Linked DNA regions of Homo sapiens: region 1 is linked to region 2. Evidence: promoter capture Hi-C in 16 types of primary human blood cells and fetal thymus (Javierre and others, 2016). All regions are on one chromosome and are shown on one strand. Each heading gives the region's core, a stretch centred on a gene start or on the middle of the fragment in contact. The rest is flanking DNA. Distances are from core to core; before and after follow the strand shown. Region 1 overlaps PHF21A (PHD finger protein 21A). Region 2 holds the start of MAPK8IP1 (mitogen-activated protein kinase 8 interacting protein 1).

Region 1 (3,862 bases), core at 1,165-3,664, 120 kb before region 2:
GATTCCTTGAAAAGACAGGGGGCCCTTTTCTCATCTCTTAGAACCTCACTATCACTTTGCATGTTTTTGAACACATGGTAGGTATGCAGTGAGCTAGTGTTGATAGATGTCTCGTCACGTTATGGTTGGTTGGAGGGAAGAAAGATCACTTTTTAAGTTAGTCACTCTATATTTAAGTGTTTTTGTAATGGGAAATCACCTGTAAAACGAGCTTGCAGGAACGCTCTAAAGATTAAAACTGTGAAGTGTGTGGCATATGCTAGGCACTTAATAAGTAAATAATAGCTCTTGTTATTGTTATCTTTAAATTTTACTGACTGTTGTTCTGACTTTGACTTTGCATTTTCTGAGATCTTTGAAAATACATATTGTTAGTACCTGTTGATTTGTATTTTGTGCCTTTGAAGGAAAGAATAGAAATATTATTCCAAGGGAGGGTTGTTGGTCTTAAAATATTTTTGTGCCATTTTTATTGTAGGCAAGTATATCACATTCTAATAGGCGTTTAAGACAGTTCAATACTTAATACAAGTGTATCTTTTTAAATAAGACATTTGACCAGCTGAATAGATTGTAGTAACCTGTTGTAAACTAGTTTCAGCTGAAATCTCACTGATCCCACTAGATGGCGTTAGTTCATTAAGGCATAACTTCATCCTCTAGCTCAGGCAGACAGCTGCCTGTGTAGATGAACTGATTTTAGTATCTTTAGAGAGTGAATGTGGCAGTAAACTTTTAGACTCCTTGTTATTTATATAGCGTGATTTGTGGAGGTTATTCAGAAAGTTTAGGAAGATAGAACACTGAGGGCAGATTTATTCAAACTAAAGAACTATAACAAGTTGCAATATTTCGTTAGGTGCTTATTAATTCTGGATTTGACTTAGCCTTTGCCCTAATTGTATATACAACCGAAAGATTAAGAATTTACTGATTTCTCATGGTTTTTTGCCCTATTAAAATAATTCTTGTTTGGGCTTCTGGAAGCATTGGAAAACAAATGAAAATTGGGAGTACACATTTTTTAAAGCATGAAGTTTATAACATTTAATTTTAAAATCATTTGGCTCTTATTTATAGGAACTATGTCAACAGTGATCTACTTGTCAGTTAATCTGGTTCTTTAATCGTAAATGTAAAATAACAGTGAACATCCTAATTCTTTAATTCTCTCTTGTCTGAATTTGAATTATTTTTTATCTACAAAGACTGTTTTATATTAGACCAGCCCATTTTCAAAGTTTAAAATTGTGCTTTTCCACAGGCATTTGTAGGCTCCAAATAAACTTTTAAAATTGTATGTTTTATTTTTCTTACTGTTCTTGAGAGTTCTGAAGTTGAAGTTTTTTAAAGAAATGAATACGATTCACATGCAAAAAAAGCATTTCCACATTTCATTAGAAGTGTTTCTTTTTTCTTTATGATCAGATTCATACAGCTAGAGTAAATTGTTTCAGAATTGGTGGGATGATCCGTCTTGAGCTATGGAAGCTTAATTGTGCTACAAATATTATTCTTTTATTCATTGCTCATAGGGAGTAAGTAGTTGGTGCTGATGGTTCCCCTAATGTTTATTTAACTATTCCAGTATAAGGCAGTTCACATTTCTTAGTAAAAGGATCGTTGATAGTTTCATTTACCTAGTATGTAATAAAAAGCTGAGAATAATCAGGGGCATTTGCTAATGGAGTCAAAATAACCTGTTTTATAAGTCAGAACAGGAAGGTCTGAACATTTGGTGCCCATTAATTAAGTTAATATTGCAAATGAGGTTTTTGCTTTTCTTATTATCTTGAAACCTTCAACCAGAAAAAGCAACTGCCTAAGATTATTTGGTATATACAAGGCGTTAATATATTGTGCAAATATTCTACAGTCTGAAAAATCTCAAAATCTGAAACACTTCTGGTCCCAAGCATAAATTTGTATAAATTTTATACAATATTTTACATCATTTTGTACATGAAACAAAGTTTTGACTGCATGTTGACTATGATCTATCACTTGAGGTCAGGTGTGAAGTTTTCCAGTTGTGGCATCACGTCAGTGCTCAAAAAGTTTTGGATTTTGGAGCATTTTGGATTTCAGATTTTTCAGATTAAAGATGCTCAACCTGAATTTTTGGACTGCGGTTGCTCTTGGTAACTGAGCCTGCAGAAAGTGAAATTACTGATGTGGGGGACTGCTGTATTAGTTGGGTGTATACATGCATGTGTTAAAATTTAACTGCATAATCTCATTTTCCATATTCAGAGACATTTGCAGTAAGAGACAAATATTATTGTAAAGGGAAAAAGTAAACTTTGTTGTGTAGTGCTTATCTGTTTCCCTGTGTTTTTTCTTGAGGGTAGCCATGATAAAGAAGGGGAATAAATTTCGAACACATGTAAGTATGTGTGTAGTGAATGGGAGAGAGGGAGAGATGGTATTTTCAGGAGGCATAAACTGTATTTTACAAAGACATCTTTTAGATGATGAGTCCTTTAGTCTTGAGGAGACAGTTCAATGGAAAGCATTCTAGGCCTGGCAGATACAGCCCTCATCCACAGTAAAAGTTAAGTGCTATGAAAAAGTAATAGTCTGTGCTATGCAAACCAATATGAAGAAAAGTGAGTTTTTGTTTGATAAGAGGTCAAATGAGCACAGTTCTTTAAAACTTTTATGTTGAAGAAAAGAATAGAGAATATTCTGTCATAGCTACTGATAAAATATTTCAGTTTATGAAATATTGTCACTTACATGTTTTAAGTAGCTTTTAATATAATCTTAGAACAAGGACTTCCTTCTCTCCTCTACCCCTTCCCTACTCCCCAGTGTCTCTTATTTCTTATCTATTAAAAGTGAAATCCATTTCCTTTGGTCAAAAGTACAAGTTTTTTACAGTGTCCAAGACATCTCAAATTGATTCACTTTGTTATATAGAAAACACCATCTGTGATGTCAGACCATTTCTTAGAAAATTGACTGTTAAGAGCTCTTTTGCATTGAGTTATTTGGTTTTTATGAAGATGAACATTGGATGAAATTTCTTACCAGTATGCATAATTCAATGATTTTAAGAATCTATGGAAAATAAATTTAAACATTTTTAAATGAAATGGGATAAGAAAAAGGGGAGACAGGATTTTATTCATTGGTATATCTTTTTAATTTTCTACTTTGTGACTCCGTTTAAAAAAACCAACTCTGTAATTTTGAAGCAGAGATTCTGAAATTACCACTTTTCTAAAAATATCACTTACAGCTGAAACTTAATATATTGAAGCATTTTTGTTCTGAGGATGATACATATTTTCATAAAGATGTATTTCCAAATGGAAACAGCACTGAAGCTTCTGAAATAGGGAACCTTTCCAAAATAGGCTGTGGTTGCCTGGGTGAAGAATATTAGGTTGCAACACTCAAAAAGGAAATCCTGGCATAGGAAGCAATTGATGAAGGGCAAATGTCTGCAGAGTGTAATGAAGCTTTTAAAAGCACTTGTGTGGGCCTGCATGCAAGGCCTTGCCAGTACTTTTCAAATTAAAATTCATGTGCTCTGTAGTGTGCTGAGCCATACTCATACTTCCATCTTTACTTCTCTTCTACATAATATATCATTCTTATTTTTAATCTTCTATAAGTACTAGTCATCATCCTAGTGAGAATTGTAGCGTTTTCTCACTCTGCCCTTCGTGAAAATGTCATCATCATTATGGGCAGCAGGGCAGCTTTATGGTGTTTTAAAAATCAAGTTCATCAGCATTTTTAAGCTATCAATTTCTTGTTTTAGTGTCATTAGTACTATGAATATTGAATATTTTATGACTCTTTAGTTTTATAAAATATTTTTTTCTTTTAGCAGTGGGGGAGAGGATAGGTA
Region 2 (3,920 bases), core at 704-3,203:
CCACTGGGCCAGAGGCAGGGCTGGGACGTAGAGTGGACTAAACACGCACAGACCTGGGTCCCAGTGTAGCCTTAGTCTCTGACTCTTTTGTAGTCTCCAGATGAGCCACCCTGCCTTTGTTAATCTCAATCACCTCATCTATAAAATGGGCAGGTCACTACCCTCTCTTGGGGCAGTTATGAGGGTTAAAGGAGGGGCCTTGGGAAGACACTCTGGACAGCAGCGAGCCGTAGTGTTGTCTGCTAGTGTGGGGGCTGACACTTGTTGAACACTGACCTGATGTGCTTTTTCTCCTTTCCAGGCAAGAATCAATATTAATTAGCCCACTTAACAGATGGCACCCAGAGAGGACAAAAACCTGCCTGGGTCATGCAGTTAGAAAGTAGTGGAGCTAGGATTTGAACCCAGGTCCCTCTAAGCCCCATGTGCTTCCACTGCAGAGGCCTCCAGGTGGGGAGGCAGTATTTGCATGGAGGCCTCATGCACCATGCCAGGTGGAGTCTCAGACCTCAGTCTAAGGCATTATCAGAGAGCTGCAGCCCTGGAGCCTTCAGGCCTGGCCTCCTCCATCTGGCCCCCTCTGGTCCTTCCAGCTCAGCTCAGGGCCTCAGGGAAGGTTTCTGAGTTTGATGATGCTATTAGAGATCCCCAGGGGTCTCTGCCCACCTGAGGACCTGGGAGCCAGTGACCCCTTGCTCCCAGGAGGGGCTGGCACCACAGCCCAGCTGGAGCCTGGCTGGGGTGGTGCCCCAGGAGAGGGGAAGGCGCCAGTTCTCGAGATGGGGAAACAATGGGGTATGTCTAAGCCTCCCTCTCTAGGCCGGGAGCAGTGACTTCGGCCTCTTCCTCCCCACCAACTAGGGTTCAGAATTATGGGGGAGGTACATCTATTCCTCCTCCACACAACACTCACCCCTCACTTCTCTGAAATGCATCGGGCCTAACACCAGATTGGGGGGTGGGGGTGGTGGAATAGGAGCTCAGGTCAGGGTTCTGGGTATTTACCCCAGCAGGGATCCCCTCGACACCCTCGCTGGCCCTGGCTACTCCAGAGCCGAGCCGACTTCCCTTCCCGCAGCCGGGCCTAGGATTCCCCTGGTTGAGGCTGAGCCTTCAGCGCCTGCCCTGAGAGACACACCTGCCTAGGTCGGTGCTGCCCAATCCAGAGAGGGGCCCGGCCACGCCAGGCCTGGCAGGTAGGCCCATCTGGCCAGGCAGGGCTCGGGGAGGGGCTCAAACATCCTCCTCCCAGCACCAACAATGTCGTTGCCCCAGGAAACTGCGACCCGCGCCCCTCCAGGCTGTTCCCAGCTCTATTCACAGGCTAAGATGCAGCCTGCCTGCCCGCTCCGGGATCGCAACCCCGACCCCAGACCCTGCCGCAGCCCGGAGGTTGGGGAGAAGGAGGCCTCCGAGCCCCCTCCTCCAATTCCAGCGCAGACCTCCCAGCCTAGGACCAGGAATGGCGGAGGGAACAGCCTCGTGAACATGCAACGGCTACCAGTCCGGACTTGAGGCTGGCGGGGCTTCTGAGGGGGGCTCTGTCCCGGGAAGAGACCCCACTCCCACGCAGCCCTTTCGTTCCCGGGTTCCCGAGGTTCTGGGGTGGGGGGCGGGCAGGGCAGCCAATGCGGATCAGTCCCCGCTGAAGGGCGAGGCGCGCGGCGGCCGGGGACTCTCACCTGAAATTGGGAGGCGAAGCGATGTGCAGCCCCAGGAACGGGGAGGCGGCGGGCGGGGACGCGGCCCCCCCTCCCAGGCCGCCGCTTTCTCGCTCCGCCATTCTCGGGCACAGCCCTGGCCATCCGGGCGGAGCGCGGCGCGGAGGAGGCGGCGGCTGCGAAGGAGGCGGAGGCGCGGCGAGAGGGCAGCCGCCGCCGCGGAGTTCGGGCTAGGCGGGCGCACCTGTGTCTGGCAGGGCGCGGCACAGCACCGCGCACGGCCCGCGGGACTGGCGAGAGCGCCCCGCGCGCGCCCCCGGGACCCGGCCGGGGTCTCGCGCGCCCCGCCCAGGCCCCGCCCCCACCCCGCCAGCCCCGCCCCCGGAGATGGCGCTCTCCGCGGTGCTGAAGCCACGGCCCCCGCGGCCCTGGGCTTGGTTCAGCCCCGCCCTAAATCCGACATCGACTCTCCTCCACCCCGTGGCCGGTGTGGGCTTTGTCCCTCCGGTTGGGCTTAGTGCCCGGGTATCAGATGACTAATGGCAGGACACTGGACCCCAAGGTCCAGGTTGGCCCCCCGCAGCAGAGACCAAGAAGGCAGGCGGAAAAGGAGGGTCGTGGAGGAAGGCAGAGAAAGGAGAGGATGTCAGTGGGCTCTTAAAGTGTACAGGTTTGGAGTCAGGTGGTGTGAATTCACTGGCTCCACAAGTGACTGGGCAGTGGGGCCTTGCATTAGTGACTTCAGAGCACTAAGGTTTGGTCTTCTTATCTGTGAAATGGGACAATAGCAGTCCCTCTCATGGTTGTTGTGAGAATGTAACGTAACACAAATGTGTTGCCTGAGACCCAGAAACACTCCACCTCCTGCGCTGGGATCCAGCCCTCACCCCAGTCCTGTCCCTTTACCTTGAGGGGACCCTCCCAAAGACTCTCCCTAGAGGCTGTCTTCTCTAAAGATTGACCCAAATCTCTCTTCAGCCCCAAACAGCTACTCGTGGTGAATTGAGCCCTCCAGGCTTCTCGGTCTCTCGCCAGGACCTTCCCAGCATTCTCCTTCTTAGCGCCTCAACTGCATTTCCTGCAGAGCACCCCTCTTCTGCACCCACAGACACACATTCTAAGACTTGGCGCCTTTCCCTCTCCTCCCACTGTTGACTTCTTGGGATCATTTTGGTTGTTTCTGTTCCCTCTGGCACCTCCATCCCTGCTAGGCTTTGGCCATGGCTTCTTCCTCATTGTCTCTCCCTCGAGAGGGTGTTATTCCTGGGCTTCCAGGCCTTCAAGTCCCTGAGTTTCCCGATTGAGTTATTTCAGAGTACGGACTGCCAAGGCTAGGGCCTTAGCTTTGCTGGGTCGTAGAGCCTCTGGTCAAACCTCATTGGCTTCTCTGGTCTCTCGAGAGAACCCTAGAGACCCTGTCCACAGGGCAGAAAACGTGCAGAGCAAACTGTGCCACAACTCGTGGAGTCCTATTTGCAAATCTGGACTGCCGACCAGTCATGCTGGCCCCTTTCCTTCAGTGCGGCACCTAGCAAGGAGCTGGAGGCACCTTCCGTGCAGAAGGCAACCTCCGACCACCAGCCCTGAGAATATCCCAATACCTAGAGCCAAAGGTCATGGCTGCTTCTCTTTTCCCTGTCCCTGGGGCCCAGAGGGGTGGCCACTACTTTCTCAGCTTTCGTGATCAGGCCCCTTTCACTGGGCCCTCACGGTAATCATCTGCTGCCATGGTGCCTGGCTTTTCCTCTCAGGAAAGCAGTCTTGCCATCATGGCTACTAATCGTTCCTTAGAATGTAGACCTGCCTCAGCTAGGGAACATCCTTAGCAGGTCAGGGGTGGATGTAAAGGACAACTCCCTCTTCCAGAACCTTTTGCTCAAGAGCAAAGTTATCTTAGCTCCAAAGACCAACCCAAAGCCATTATTAGAGAGAAGCCAGAAGGGCAAGAAGGAAAGGCAGGCCCAGGTCTTGGTATGAGGGAGGCCAGCAGGAGCTTCAGAGCAGAGCCAAGAATGAGACAAGTTCCCAAGGCAGGTTCCTCCCCTTTTCTCCTTCTTCACTCTGTGCAGGCCAGACTGTGATATTCTTGGGCCTTGCCTGGGCCCCTTCCCAGAAAGTTGGGGTGTGAGCTAATAAAGCTTTCAGTCCAAGGCTAGCATCCCCTAGCATGGAAGCAGGGCACACTGCACAGAGAGGGGCCATTCTCTGGCCAGGAGACAAAGCCAGCATCCAGGCGCCCTAGGCTTGGCTGTGGGCAGA

Evidence for each region. The method cuts DNA at HindIII sites, captures the fragments that hold promoters and counts their contacts. A CHiCAGO score of 5 or more calls a contact.
Region 1: a fragment that was not itself captured here is called in contact with the fragment with the promoter of MAPK8IP1 in region 2 in 1 of 17 cell types (naive B cells); the score reaches 5.5 in naive B cells.

The regions. Positions count from the first base shown.
Region 1 is chr11:46,003,385-46,007,246 of GRCh38, reverse strand. All of the region lies in intron 6 of PHF21A (PHD finger protein 21A), which reads left to right. Among named protein-coding and RNA genes, the nearest start is that of LARGE2, 83 kb to the right of the region's middle. The HindIII fragment of the contact is 1,841 bases long and covers 1,494-3,334 here.
Region 2 is chr11:45,883,684-45,887,603 of GRCh38, reverse strand. MAPK8IP1 (mitogen-activated protein kinase 8 interacting protein 1) reads right to left here and starts at 1,953. Exons shown (of 12, transcript NM_005456.4): 1 at 1,683-1,953. The coding sequence starts at 1,783. RefSeq lists a silencer at 1,692-2,091. The HindIII fragment of the contact is 6,698 bases long and covers 1-3,801 here.